Linked DNA regions of Homo sapiens: regions 2 and 3 are each linked to region 1. The links are contacts of gene promoters, found by promoter capture Hi-C in blood cells and fetal thymus (Javierre and others, 2016). All regions are on one chromosome and are shown on one strand. Each heading gives the region's core, a stretch centred on a gene start or on the middle of the fragment in contact. The rest is flanking DNA. Distances are from core to core; before and after follow the strand shown.

Region 1 (4,566 bases), core at 651-3,150:
CAGTGGCACGATCTCAGCTCACTGCAACCTCTGCCTCCTGGGTTTAAGTGATTCTCCTGCCTCAGCCTCCCGAGTAGCTGGGACTACAGGCATGTGCCACCACGCCCGGCTAATTTTTCTATTTTTAGCAGACACAGGGTTTCGCCATGTTGGCCAGGCTGGTCTCGGACTCCTGACCTCAGATGATCCACTGGCCTCGGCCTCCCAAAGTGCTGGGATTACAGGCGTGAGCCACCGTGCCCGGCCTAAAGCATAAGTTTTAACCAACTTTATATGTTGGGGACCTTCAACAGATTTCGTTTGAAAAAGGACTCCACTCTTTTTCAAAATTTAATTTGGTCAGGTGCAGAAGCTCACACCTGTAATCCCACCACTTTGGGAGGCCGAGGCGGGCGGATCACTTGAGCCCAAGTGTTCAAGACCAGCCTGGGCAACATGGCAAAATTCCACCTCTACAAAAAATACCAAAAAAAGCAGCCGAGTGTAGGTGGCACACACCTGCAGTCCCAGCTACTTGGGAGGCTGAGGGTGGGAGGATCTCTTGAGCCCAGGAGGCAGAAGTTGCAGTGAGCCGAGATCGAGCAGCTGCACTCCAGCCTAGACAACAGTGAGATCCTTTCTAAAAAAAAGAAAAGAAAAAGAAATTCTATAAAGTTCAAGTTCTATAAGGTAAAGTTCAACTTCAAATTCTGTAAGGTAAAGTTCAAGATTCGGCATATGTTGGTGGGTGCTCAATGTTCAATAAAAACTGGGGAATAGGCCTGGTGCAGTGGCTCACGCCTGTAATCCCAGCACTTTGGGAGGCCGAGGCAGGTGGATCACGAGGTCATGAGTTTGAGACCAGCCTGGCCAACATGGTGAAACCCCGTCTCTATTAAAAATACAAAAATTAGCCAGGCGTGGTGGTGCACGCCTGTAATCCCAGCCACTCGGGAGGCTGAGGCAGGAAAATCACTTGAACCTGGGAGGCAGAGGTTGCAGTGAGCTGAGATTGCACCACTGCACTCCAGCCTGGGCAACAGAGTGAGACTCCGTCTCAAAAAAACAAAACAAAACAAAACAAAAAACTGGGGAATATAAAATTTCGCCATACTATCCTACATCCCCCTTGAGTTTTTAGCAACGATAGTAATTGTTATATGATGCTTAACGCGTAATTACTGTACCTCATTTACATAAGGTGGTTTCAGACACATCATCTTGTTTATGTATGGCCTCTCCAAACAAAATGAGTTTAGGACAAAAGAGGAAATCCTTTTCTAAAAGCAGTTTTGTCCGTAAGTTACTGCCTCAAGAGGCCGCAAAGTTTGAGCAAAGCTTTTCCGAAAGTAATGGATTGGTAATGGGTGACTGAGGTCCACAAAGCTCGATAAGAGGCTCCTGGTCCGTCTACCAGGTTCTTAGAGGGAGGTGCCTTTGTGTGTTCGGACGCTGCACTGAGACACGTGAGGTTTTTAAATAAACTTTTGATTTTGAAATCTCTGGGACTAATTTTAAACAGTGAACCCGACAGCGAGGACCTACACACAAAAGTGCTCCCGGCCTTACCAAACAACGCAGACCCGGGGTCACGCCTCGTCCTGTTTCAACAACAACACCCAAGGGCTTCCCTGGAGCCCAGGGCGTGGGAGGGAGACTTGGGTTTGAGTTCTGCACCTTGCGGAGGTGGTTAGTTATTTAATTGTCTTCCACCTGAATTTTCCTCAGGCCCAAATTGATGAGACCTCCCCGAATCCCTCCCCTGCCCGAGTTACTAATGACGGCGTGAGGTCACACCTGGCCACTCAAAACCAGCTCCTTGACGCAGGTGACCCTCCGCCTCGCGCAGCTCACGCTTCCCATCCCCCGGACTCCACCCCCAGCGGGAGGCCACGGGGCCGCTGTGCGCACGCGCCGCCGCACACCGGGGGCTCTCGGGCACCCGCGCGGCGCCGGTTGGCCTTCCCGGCGCTCGCCCGGGGGCGCGCTTGCGCGCCAGCGGCTGCGGACACCAGCCTGCGTCCCCGGCGCGGCGGGCCATGGAGGCCCTGAGGAGGGCCCACGAGGTCGCGCTCCGCCTGCTGCTGTGTAGGCCGTGGGCCTCGCGCGCCGCCGCCCGCCCCAAGCCCAGCGCCTCGGAGGTGCTGACGCGGCATCTGCTGCAGCGGCGCCTGCCGCACTGGACCTCCTTCTGCGTGCCCTACAGCGCCGTCCGCAACGACCAGTTCGGCCTCTCGCACTTCAACTGGCCGGTGCAGGGCGCCAACTACCACGTCCTGCGCACCGGCTGCTTCCCCTTCATCAAGTACCACTGCTCCAAGGCTCCCTGGCAGGACCTGGCCCGGCAGAACCGCTTCTTCACGGCGCTCAAGGTCGTCAACCTCGGTGAGTGGCGACTGCCGCGCCCACGCGGTGAAGCCCGCCCGGCCGGGACGGCCCCTCAGCCACCGAGCACGTGACGAACGCTCGCAGGCCGGTAGAGTCCCGCGGGAGTCAGCTCTGCCTCCCGGCGCCGGCTTCGCCTGGGGTCCTTTGTACTCCTCGCCCAGGGGGTCCCCAGCTTGCTGAGCTCCTGGCACCCGAAGCCGTTCGCCTGCTGCGGGCGCGTCCTCGGGCCTAGGGAGGGGCGGGTCGCCCTCCTGTCCTGCCCATGTTAACCAGAGTAGACCCCTGGCCTGGGCAGTAAGCCAGGGGGCGTCAGGAAACGCCCCCTAGAAAGTGGCTCTGAAGTTGACATCCGTCCTACTGCATGGCAGGACTCATTCCCGTGAACATCACTTTGCAGCTGCGTTTATGTTGCAATAACTGGAACTACTCTTTTAAGTTTCTTTTGTTTTCTTTGTATGAATTCCCGGCAAGTTCGTTTTACTAAAAGCACCAAAGGTTTTCACCAGACATAACAGCTTCCTGAGGTGCTAGGCCTAAAAGATTTTTAAAGATCTTTAATATTTGTATATTTTCATGGAGACGCCCTGAGGATGTTTACTGTCACTAGGTGTTTATTTTCTTTTGGTTTAATGACAGAAGAGGGAGGTACGAACATGGACATGGGTGTATCTTTTATAGGTCAGGGGAAAACAGAAGGCCTCAAGATGTTTTGAACTTACTAATAGCTGGCATAAAATCAATCTAGATTTCAGTGATTCAAAATCTAGCCATGGAGCTGAATGAACCATGTTACCCAGCCAGGTTTTTAAAGCCAGGATTAAAACTAAACCCTGCGCAGCCGTACTACTAATACTATTACATAATCTGATCGTCCATTAAGGTTAAAAATAGTCTGTGTATTTGTGCTTATAATAACACATATGTCAGTCGTGGGCTTTTTGAGCCGTTACTCCACTGGACTGTCCTGTAAGGAGATAATTGTTTAGCAACGTGTTATCCTTTAAAAATGCCTCTTATTATTTGGCTGATGGACTGTATAGAGCATGCCCACTACTTTGGAGGTTGGTTGAAGTTGAAGGGTGAGGTGACTTAGGAAATTCAATTCGAAATTATTTGGAAAGACTGGAGTGTTAACTAGATTCGAGAAGTATAAGTTTATTTTAGCATTTTTCATAAGTAAGAAATCATTCTTCCCTAAAGAATAATAGGTTAGGAAAAGCATAACGGGAGAGTTATAGGTAAACCATGAGCCAAATGCCTTTTTTTCCTTTAAAGTCACATTTTTAGTGTTGACATTTTGTTTAAGAGCACCTTAATGATTAGGGGCCTCTCTTTTAGATTTAGAGATTAAGACATCCAAAAAAAGTGGATACTCAGAACATTCCACACATAGAAAAGTAAAACCTTTTAAAGTTGAAAGAAACAACAGTTGTAGTGTTTTTTGTTTTGTTTTGTTTATTAATGTGGGAGAGTGATTTAATGGTCTGTATGGTCTTTTGGACATTCTAAAAATCCTGCTAAAATGGGAGTAAGAGTTCTAAGTTAAGCAAAAAGGACAACTTTTTGCTCATGCATGCTTTAATACAAATTGGGATATACTGATAAAGGGAATTAAAAAATATTTTAAAGTGGTGAACACATCTGGTAACGTTTATTTTTAATTTTTGTCTGAAGGTAGAGGGGATGTGAATTAGATAATAGGTCCTTTCCTATTCTGTGAGGTACAATCGTCTCTCTGGGTGATAAAGTACATATCCTATTAATATTATACTTAGGATTTTGTTCCTCTTCTTCCCTTCCAAATTCATTTTTCCATTTTGTAAATAATAAAGATTTCTGTTTACCCATTTGCTCCTTTTCTCCTCCGTCTTCCCTTCAATGGAAGCTGACATTTTACTGATGGTTTACCAGTCTAGGTATCCTGCTGAGAAGTAGATTGAGATTTAAGAAAAGCAACTTACCATTGGAATGAATGAGATTTACTGAGGAATTCTAATTTTTTAAAGTGCTTAATTTGACAGTGGTTTACCTACTGTTCAGCTGACTCAAAGTGAATTATTATGCAAAGAACTGATTTGGAGGTTCTTTTGATGTTACATGTTTCAGATATAAATTTAATTTTTCAGAAAAAATTGAATTTTTCATAGAATCTTATAGACTTCAAAGCATGTGTGCTACAAAGATTTTGTAATATATAAG
Region 2 (4,566 bases), core at 2,060-4,559, 270 kb after region 1:
CTAGCTCTTGGGGGGCTGAGGCAGGAGGATCACTTTCGCCCAGGAGTTCGAGACCCGCCTGGGCAACATAGTGAGACCCTGTCTCTACAAAAACTTAAAAACTAGTTGGACATGGTGGCACTGCCTGTAGTCCCAGCTTCTCAGGATGCTGAGGTGAGAGGATCACTTGAGCCCATGAGGTAGAGGATGCAGTGAGCCATGATTGTACCATTGCACTCCAGCATGGGTGACAGAGAGAGACCCTGTCTCAAAAAAAAAAAAAAAAAATTACACAGTACAGAAGGATATACAGTAAGAAGTTAGTCTCCTTCCAATCCTCCATATCTTCCAGCCCTAATCTCTAGAGATAAGCATTGTTAATAGTAGCTTGGGTATCCTTCTAGAATTTTTAATTCTTTTTATTCTGCACCTTGCTTTTTTACTTAGTGAGTCATTGAGGTCTTTCCATATAATATAAAGATCAACCTTATTCTTAATGGCTGTATAGTATTCCATACTATGGATGTATCATATTTATTTATCCAGGACCCTGTCATAGGATATTTTGACCATTTCCATATTTTTTTGTTATTAAGACAGTGACTGTGTCTCTATGTATACATCTTTGTATACTGGATATGAGAATGTTAGCTCTTCTTCTTCATCTCTTCTGATACTAAATTATCAGATTTTAATCTTTGCCAACCTAATCAGTGGCAAAATGGTATCTAGTTGGCCAGGCGTGGCGGCTTAACGCCTGTAATCCCAGCACTTTGGGAGGCCAGGTGGATCACCTGAGGTCAGGAGTTCGAGACCAGCCTGGCCAACATGGTGAAACACTGTCTCTACTAAAAATACAAAAATTAGCTGGGTGTGGTGGGGGGACCCTGTAATTCCAGCTACTCTGGAGACTGAGGCAGGAGAATTGCTTGAACCCGGGGAGGTGGAGGTTGCAGTGAGCCGAGATCGCACCATTGCACTCCAGCCTGAGCAACAAGAGCAAAACTCTGTTTCAAAAAAAAAAAAGGATCTAATCATTTTAATTTATGTTTATTTTATTAAGTATGAGGATTAACACTTCTTTCATATGTTTGTTGGTCACATTTTTTTTTTCACATTCTTTGCCTGTTTTTCTGTTGAATGTGTTGTCTCTTCCTTCATCTTGTTGAAGATTGATTTTTCCATCTAGACAGTGAAGGGGGTGGACACAATTTCCAAGGCCCCATCCCACTTCTGCAGTCTGTGGTCCAGGCCCGAGTGTCCTTTGGGCAGCTTTTACACTACCAAGGTGCTATTTGCTCATGACCTTGTCAAGCAACATTGAGGTTGAATAGCCAATAGCTGGGGGTAAACTACAAGAGAGTCGTTTTCTTTTCCCTTTGTTTGGTTGTGTATCTTTCTTCCACTCTTAAAAAAGCAGGCTTGGAAATTGCAAGGCAGAGCTGGATTGAACTTCCTTTAAAGCAGCCTGTAGACATCAGGAATATTTATTTTTTCTATTTGTTTTAAGCCTGGGAAGACTGTGTGGTTTTCTCAACACTGTCCTGATGGAGCCCTGACCAGCAAGCGTGCAATGCCCCTAGCCCTAATGTGCCATTAATGATAGGTTAATGTACAGTATAATGTTTTTGGGACTACGGGTTCATTACACTTCTGAGTGTGAGGTCTTTCCACAGAGCGCCCAAGGTCCCATTGCATTATATCATGCAATAAAAATACCCTTTTCATATCACACACTAATAAACTGTATTTGAAATGCTGTCTGAGGGCACTGCCGTCTTGTCTGTAGGCTGTGCACAAGTGCAACAGTTGGGATTCCTTTTTTCTATTTTGTGGTTTAGTTACATGGAATTCTAAACCCAGAAGTCTGCTCATTCTTGTTTTAAATGGGGAGCAAGTTGGGTCTTTAGGGCTGAGGCTCAGAGGAGGGGCTGCTTACTGAGTGGTGAGGGTCTTTAAGATGTGGAGAGCAGCCTTTAATTCTCTACTGCAGCTGTCAGGAGAGCCAGTCACATAAAAACAAACAAACAAAAAAAAAAAAACCTGTGTCCTAATGTCTGCCACACTTAGTGCTGAACATGTGTTAGGTGTTATAAAAGTTTCCTTAGAAAAGGAGTATGATAAGTACTGCAAAATTTAGGCCACTGATAGTTATGACTATGGAACTGCCTCTGGGCTGGGAATTTCACACACACTGTCCTGTGAGGTTGATGCTGTTCTCCATATTTTACAGAAGACGAGTCAGAGCTAGGGGGAATAAGCTGTGTTGTAGAGAATGAAATCCATAGGACTCCTGGAAACCACAGGTAAATTATTACCTGTCTACCCAGAGAGAGCTCCTCACGCCATGAATAGTCCACCTGTGAGACATCCGAGCTGCAGCTGGGCAGGAGCCAAGCATCTTCTTTTCAAATGCACATGGCCCTAGTGCCCTTCTTAAGTTATTCATACTTTCCTGTGAATTGGCTTAATGTCAGCAGTTAGCTGGCATAAGATGACTTTGAAGCTTTGGAAGAGGAGACTCTTCTGCATTAAACAGGAAAAGGGGCATTGGAGTTGAGGGATGAGGCAAAGACTGAAGGATCAAAGGGCTTCAAATCACCTGTTTCATATTTTCTCTAAGGCAGACTCTGACTTTGTTATGCAGGGGCTTGTTTTGACCACTTGTGGAGTGTGGGGAAAGACTGACCTGTGAAGGCCAAGAACCTCAAGAAACTTGGGCTCAGGCATCATTACCATCTTAGAGTGCAGTGTCCTTGTTTATAAAATAGGTTATCATTTACTTTCTGATAGGGCTTTTGGAGATCACATGAACTAATGTAAATGAAAGCACCTAGTGAGCACCTGGCACAGGGTAAGTGCTCACAACTGGCTGCTATTATATTGCACATCATCACAAAAGGCACAGGTTTGGGAGCTGACATCCAGTGCAAATCCCAGCTCTACCTTGGCCAAATCCACAAATTGAGGGAAGTAACAGTAATGCCATCCAGCTGCTTTATGGGGTTGTTGTGACACTGAAATAAGATAATGAGCTTGAAAGCCGGTTGTAGAATGAAAACCACTACTCAAATGCTGGTATCAGTAAATATAAGCATTTCTCTCTCCAAATCAACATATTCAAACTGGGTTGTCTTTAAATAAATATCCTTACAGCAAAGGCAGTAGGAGCAGCTATTAGGAAGATTCACTGATCTGTTCCCCTCACCACCAGGGAGAATGTCATGGCTGCAACAAAGACTTAAAATAGCACAAAGCATATAAAAGTCAGGGCAATTCTTACCTCCTACCTCTTCATAACGACAGAGCACCAGGCAGAGGAGGGGCAGGGCCAGGTCTCTGCTCACCTGCATTGGTGAGAAGAGAGCCAATACCTGCTCAATGTGGACAGTATTGCTTAGAACAGTGGTGGGAGGTCAGGTTTGCAAAAGGAGGTTAAGATCAAAGGAACTGTGTTGAAGGGTTGAGTTGGTCTGGTGGAAAGAAAAAAACTAGGACGTTGCTAAGACCCTCCTGCAAAAGACTGGACCTTCTGGCTCTAGGCAAAGTCCCCTTAATTGTTATGAGAAGAGTATTTAAATTTCAAGGATAATTAGTTTTTCTCTTAAGGGGTATAGGGTTAGACTAAACCTTTTATTTTTAGATGTGAGGTCTTTGAAACACTTGGATACACCTCTCAGGGGTTAAATCTGTCTTTGGGGCTACCAGGACTTGAAAAATGTTGCTCTGTATCAAGAAAACCAGAAGTGACAAGTTCATTTAAAAAGCCTGGTTTGTCATTGTTTATCTAATTTTCGGGGTTGACACAGAAAATTAAACCAGCTGACACTCACTCTCTGACCGTCTCTCTGGCTCATTTCCCTGGTCCTTTCCTACCTGACCTTGCAACTACAAAATGCTCCAGACCCTAAAATATAAAACTTCCCACTGAGTTTCTGAGTCACCCTGCAGTCATTCCAAGATTATGTCATTGGATGTCATCCCTAATGGTATTAAAAATCAAGATGAAGTTGTAAATCTGCTCTGTGAGATATTTCTTTTCCGCCCCCCGCTTTGACCATAAATCTTAAAAGTAATCAAACTCTCTGCAAAGAAGCCAAGGTAAACTTGGGCCCAAAGCGGCCCCGTATGTCTTTAATGAATTCAGAGGATCGGCAAGCTTGTCTGTCCCCGTGAGATCACATGGTGCTTCATGGCAAACTTTACAGAAAAGTGGGCAAAGTGAGAGCCTTCATTGTGTTTAATATGGATTTTCTAAAACTCACATGGCAACATCATAGGTGGATGAGCTGCTCCATGTAAGAAAATTATTCAGATAACTGTAGTGTATTCTTTATAAAATCAAACTTTAAAAAATTACAAGCAAGAGGTCTTAAATGTGTTATAACACTGCTCTATCCTCTTAAACAGATTACATGCATCAGGATTTAATTTTTTACAAAGTTAAATTTACTTCCAGCTACTCGGGAAACTGAAACAGGATCATCTGAGCCCAGGAGTTCAAAGGTGTAGTGCGGAATGATTGTGCTTGTGAATAGCCACTGTGCTCCAGTCAGGGCAACACTGTGAGACCTCATCTCTAAAAAA
Region 3 (4,695 bases), core at 999-3,498, 330 kb after region 1:
GGTGTGTTGGCTCACATCTGTAATCCTAGCACTTTGGGAGGCCAAAGCAGGAGAATCACTTGAGGTCAGAAGTTCGAGACCAGCCTGGCCAACATGGCAAAACCCTGTCTCTACTAAAATACAAAAATTAGCCAGTGTAGTGGCACACGCCTGTAATCCCAGCTACTCCAGAAGCTGAGGCATGAGAATTACCTGAACCTAGGAGGCAGAGGCTGCAGTGAGCCAAGATTGTGCCACTGCACTCCAGCCTGGAGGACAAGAGCAAGACTTCGTCTCAAAAAAAAAAAAAAAAAAGAAAAGAAAAGAAAAGAAAAAATTTGCTGTTACAAACATTAGATAATAATTTTGTGATGCCAGGCACCTGAGGCACTCAATAAATGCTCGTTCTCTCCTCCCCTTTTAGCTGAGAACCTCACCCTCATTTCCTGGAGCTGGCAGCCCCTTATCTTTTTCCTTCCCCCCTCCAACCTGGGACTGAGAAAGTGCCTACAACTGACGCCTCTGATCAGTAGCAACATTTCACCCCCTGGGGCCAATCTGGCCCATCATCTGTCCCCTCCCCACACCCTTGCCAAGGGTCACAGTCTCCCTGCCCCAGGGGAGGGTCCCTTTCCCTCAGAGGGGCCGAGCTGCCCCTGGGTGACCCAGGCTCCAAGTGCTTACAGCACTTTGGGTGCATGGACTGTTGCCTCCATTGATAATTTACTGTTGTGGGCTTAGAGTGAGGCCCTGAAAACCCGCCATAAAGGTTTCTCTCACTCCTTCACCCTCATTAATTGCTCCCGCCTCCCTGTTCTTCCCACTCAGATGCCTATATTTAGTGCTGATTTTCTTCTGCCTTGTTTAGAGTTAGTTGTTTACTTGTTTGCTTCCCCTGCCACCTCCCAGACCATGAACCCAGCTGTGAGGGGCCAGACTTTATTCATTGCTGTACTCCCAGTGAAGTGGCACCATTCGCCTGGGGGGATACCTGAGGTTCATTGTCTCATGCCAGGGAAATCAAGGACATGGACACACAAGGAGTGAGGTTGAGAGCGGAGGTTTAATAGAAGGAGGCCAGGCATGGTGGCTCACACTTGTAATCCTAGCACTTTGGGAAGCCAAGGTGGGTGGATCACGAAGTCAAAAAGATCGAAACCATCCTGGCCAACATGATGAAATCCCGTCTCTACTAAAAATACAAAAATTAGCTGGGTGTGGTGGTGCACGACTGTAGTGCCAGCTACAGGCTGAGGCAGGAGAATCACTTGAACACGGGAGGTGGAGGTTGTAGTGAGCTGAGATCACACGACTGCACTTCAGTCTGGTGACAAAGTGAGACTCCATCTCAAAAAAAAAAAAAAAAAAAGGCGAAAGAAAGAGAAAACCTTTCTCCTACAAGGAGAGGGGTCCTGAGCAGGTTTCCAGTCCACAGTGAAATGCAGGGTTTTATAGATGAGCTTGAGAAGGTAGCGTCTGATTTACATAGAGCACGAAAGAGTGCTTGGACCAGGTGTGCCATTTGCATAAGGCATGAAAAAGTGGTTAGGACTAGGTATGCTATTTGCATAGTGTGTAAAAGTCTGGCCACCCCCACCCTAATCTTTTATTATGCAGATGAGCTTTCTACCTGGCTGGCACCATGTTGCCTGTTCCTTTACTGTACACATGGTGACAAAAGGGAAGTTGAAGCCTCCATATTGAACATACCTGGCCCTCAGGTAACCCTTTTCTATTGGCACAGGTGCTGGCATTCGCCCGTGCAAGCTTCCAGCTTGCTTATCTGTTTGCAGCTCGATTTTTCAGGCTGCTCTTTGTTAGAAAAGCAATGATTTTGGGCTGCTTTTTGTTGAAAGGGAATTTCTGCCGAGGACTCTTACCCTCACGATCTGCCTGAATAATTTCTTTCTGTCTCCTGTATCACCAGCACCTGGCACAGCACCTGAATTTTAAATCTTATTTATTTATTTATTTATTTATAGAGACAAGTTCTTGCTCTGTCGCCTAGGCGACACTATAACATCAACCTCCTGGCCTCAAGTGATCCTCCCACTTTGGCCTCCCAAAGTGTTGGGATTATAGGTGTGAGCCACCACACCTGGCCTTAATAGACACATTTTTTTCTTTAAAGCTTCTGTTACAAAGGACAGATAAGAGGATTTCAAGAGTTAAGATGACCACAGATCAAACTTCCTTGATGTGCCATCTTCCAACTTAAATTCGAAAGCTACTTGAGACACAGAAAAAGACAAAAACTGAGAACCATTCAGAAAACTTAGTGGTCAGTTGTTGGCCAGAGTCCAAGATGGAAATTTCCCTAATAACCTGCCACTGGGGCTGGGGGAAGTCACATGGTAGGTGGCCTGTGCATACTTTGCCCTCTAAAGTGGCCCAGAACCTGCAGACAGGAAGCTTGCAGGGAGAAGCTTAGGCCCTCATTCACTGTACAGGGCTGCACTCACCAGCAAATGGGCAGCACACTCCTAACACTCAAGTATGGTTTTCTGAGGCAGTCACTTCTGTCCACCCTCACCCCTTCCGTTAGACTGTCTCTGCCTGTGTCTGTGGGGACACTGTGGCACTCAGTACCTCTGAGCAGGGAGCAGGGCAGGACTGATGAGGAGGTGGCCTAAAAGGCACGCTCGCCTAATGCAGGGACCCTACAGATGGAAAGAGTGCGGTTTTATTTCAAAATATCTGATACACAGTAATATAGATACCTTGTAGTACTTAAATCGTATTAACCCAGTTTGAAGGTCTTTGGCTTTTAGTATCATGCGTTTATTTTTATGTTGGCATGTTTGGTTTTATTTCTTTTATTTTGGTTTATGCCTTCTCTTTTTCATGTTTGTTTTTGTTTTTGCCTTCTATGATAAGCAAAATTGCATGATGATGTATTTTTTATTTATTTATTTTTTTTTTGAGATGGAGTCTAGCTCTGTTGCTCAGGCTGGAGTGCAGTAGCACAATCTCGGCTCACTGCAACCTCCACCTCCCGGGTTCAAGCGATTCTCCTGCCTTAGCCTCCCAAGTAGCTGGGATTACAGGCGCCCACCACCATGCCCAGCTAATTTTTGTATTTTTAGTAGAGACAGGGTTTCACTGTGTTGGCCAGGGTGGTCTCGAACTCCTGACCTGATGATCCGCCCACCTCGGCCTCCCAAAGTGCTGGGATTACAAGCGTGAGCCACCGCGCCTGGCCCTTTTTTTTTTTTTTTTTTAAGACAGAATCTCGCTATGTTGCCCAGGCTGGAGTGCAGTGGCGCGATCTCAGCTCACTGCAACCTCCGCCTCCTGGATTCAAGTGATTCTCCTGCCTCAGCCTCCTAAGTAGCTGGGATTACAGGCGCCTGCCACCGCGCCCTGCAATTTTTGTATTTTTAGTAGAGACAGGGTTTCACCATCTTGGCCAGGCTGGTCTTGAACTCCTGACCTTGTGATCCACCTGCCTCAGCCTCCCAAAGTGCTGGGATTACAGGCATGAGCCACCGTGCCCAGCCGATGATGTATTTTTTTAGAGTCATGGTCTCGCTATGTTGCCAGGCTGGACTTGAACTCCTGGTCTCAAATGATTCTCCAGTCTCAGCTTCCTGAGTAGCTAGGAGTACAGGTGCACCATTGTACCTGGCTGATGATTTGTTTTTATCTTCTGTAATTTGAAAAGTATATAGCTATATAGCCTATTGTTTTAATTCTGCCAACACCTTGAAGATTTTTAAAAACTTTTTTGAACCCATGTAGTATAGTTTGGACTTCCCCTCCAAATCTCATGTTGAGATGTAATCCCCAATGTTGGAGGTGGGGTCTGGTGGGAGGTGTTTGAGTCATGGGGGTAAATCCCTTGATGCTTTCCCGGAGATAGTGAGTTCTCATGAGATCTGGTTGTTGTAAAGTGTGGCACCTCCCCCACGCTCTCTCTTGCTCGTGCTCTGCCATGTGAAACAGCAGCTCTCCCTTTGCCATCTCCCAGGAGTAAAAGTTTCCTGAGACCTTCCCAGAAGCCAAACAGATGCCTAGCACCAGGCTTCCTGTACACTCTGTAGAACCATGAGCCATTTAAACCTCTTTTCTTTATAAATTACCCAGTCTCAGGTGTTTCTTTACACAATGCAAGAACATCCTAACACACCATGTTTCTCTATCAGATTGAAAATAAATCTACCATGTTTGCCTCCCTTCCAATATAAAGTGAGAAGTTTTTCAGGCCCTCCTTCCATATCTCTTCATTAGAGGCCTAGGTTATCACACCTCTCTTTTTTAAAATGATATAGGTCTTCTTTTTACAAAAAATTGGTTTTAAATTTGGGATCCAAATTTTAGCCATGTTTATCATTATTTATTTGATACTCTGTGTTTAAATGGTTTCCACATTTCCTGCAGGCTCCACTTACTATGGCTGTAAAACAAATTAGCCCCAAACAGTGGCCAGGTGCAATGGCTCGTGCCTGTAATCCCAGCACTTTAGAAGAGGCCGAGGAAGGCCAATCACTTGAGGCCAGGAGTTGGAGACCAGCCTGGCCAATATGGCGAAACCTCGTCTCTACTAAAAACACAAAAATTAGCCAGGCAAGGTGGTGTGTGCCTGTAGTCCCAGCTACTTGGGAGGCTGAGGCAGGAGAATTGCTTGAACCTGGAAAGCAGAGGTTGCAATGAGCCAAGATTGCGCCACTGCACTCCAGCCTGGGTGACAGAGAGAGACTGTTTCAAAAAATAAAA

The links. Contacts are between HindIII fragments. The CHiCAGO score rates a contact against its expected background, and 5 or more counts as called.
Region 2: a fragment that was not itself captured here is called in contact with the fragment with the promoter of C15orf61 in region 1 in 1 of 17 cell types (naive B cells); the score reaches 5.2 in naive B cells.
Region 3: a contact is called between a fragment that was not itself captured here and the fragment with the promoter of C15orf61 in region 1, in 2 of 17 cell types (total CD8 T cells and naive CD4 T cells). The highest score is 7.2, in total CD8 T cells.

What each region holds. Positions count from the first base shown.
Region 1 is chr15:67,519,231-67,523,796 of GRCh38, forward strand. C15orf61 (chromosome 15 open reading frame 61) reads left to right here and starts at 1,901. Exons shown (of 2, transcript NM_001143936.2): 1 at 1,901-2,364. The coding sequence starts at 2,019. It overlaps IQCH-AS1 (IQCH antisense RNA 1), which reads right to left and starts at 2,614. Exons shown (of 6, transcript NR_040052.1): 1 at 2,289-2,614. RefSeq lists enhancers at 1,488-1,567, 2,208-2,327 and a silencer at 1,748-2,097. The HindIII fragment of the contact is 4,154 bases long and covers 1,316-4,566 here.
Region 2 is chr15:67,788,723-67,793,288 of GRCh38, forward strand. All of the region lies in intron 21 of MAP2K5 (mitogen-activated protein kinase kinase 5), which reads left to right. Among named protein-coding and RNA genes, the nearest start is that of SKOR1, 35 kb to the right of the region's middle. RefSeq lists an enhancer at 2,132-3,001. The HindIII fragment of the contact is 1,653 bases long and covers 2,484-4,136 here.
Region 3 is chr15:67,852,146-67,856,840 of GRCh38, forward strand. No RefSeq gene overlaps it. Among named protein-coding and RNA genes, the nearest start is that of RNU6-1, 14 kb to the left of the region's middle. RefSeq lists enhancers at 694-1,251, 1,252-1,807, 3,905-3,984. The HindIII fragment of the contact is 281 bases long and covers 2,109-2,389 here.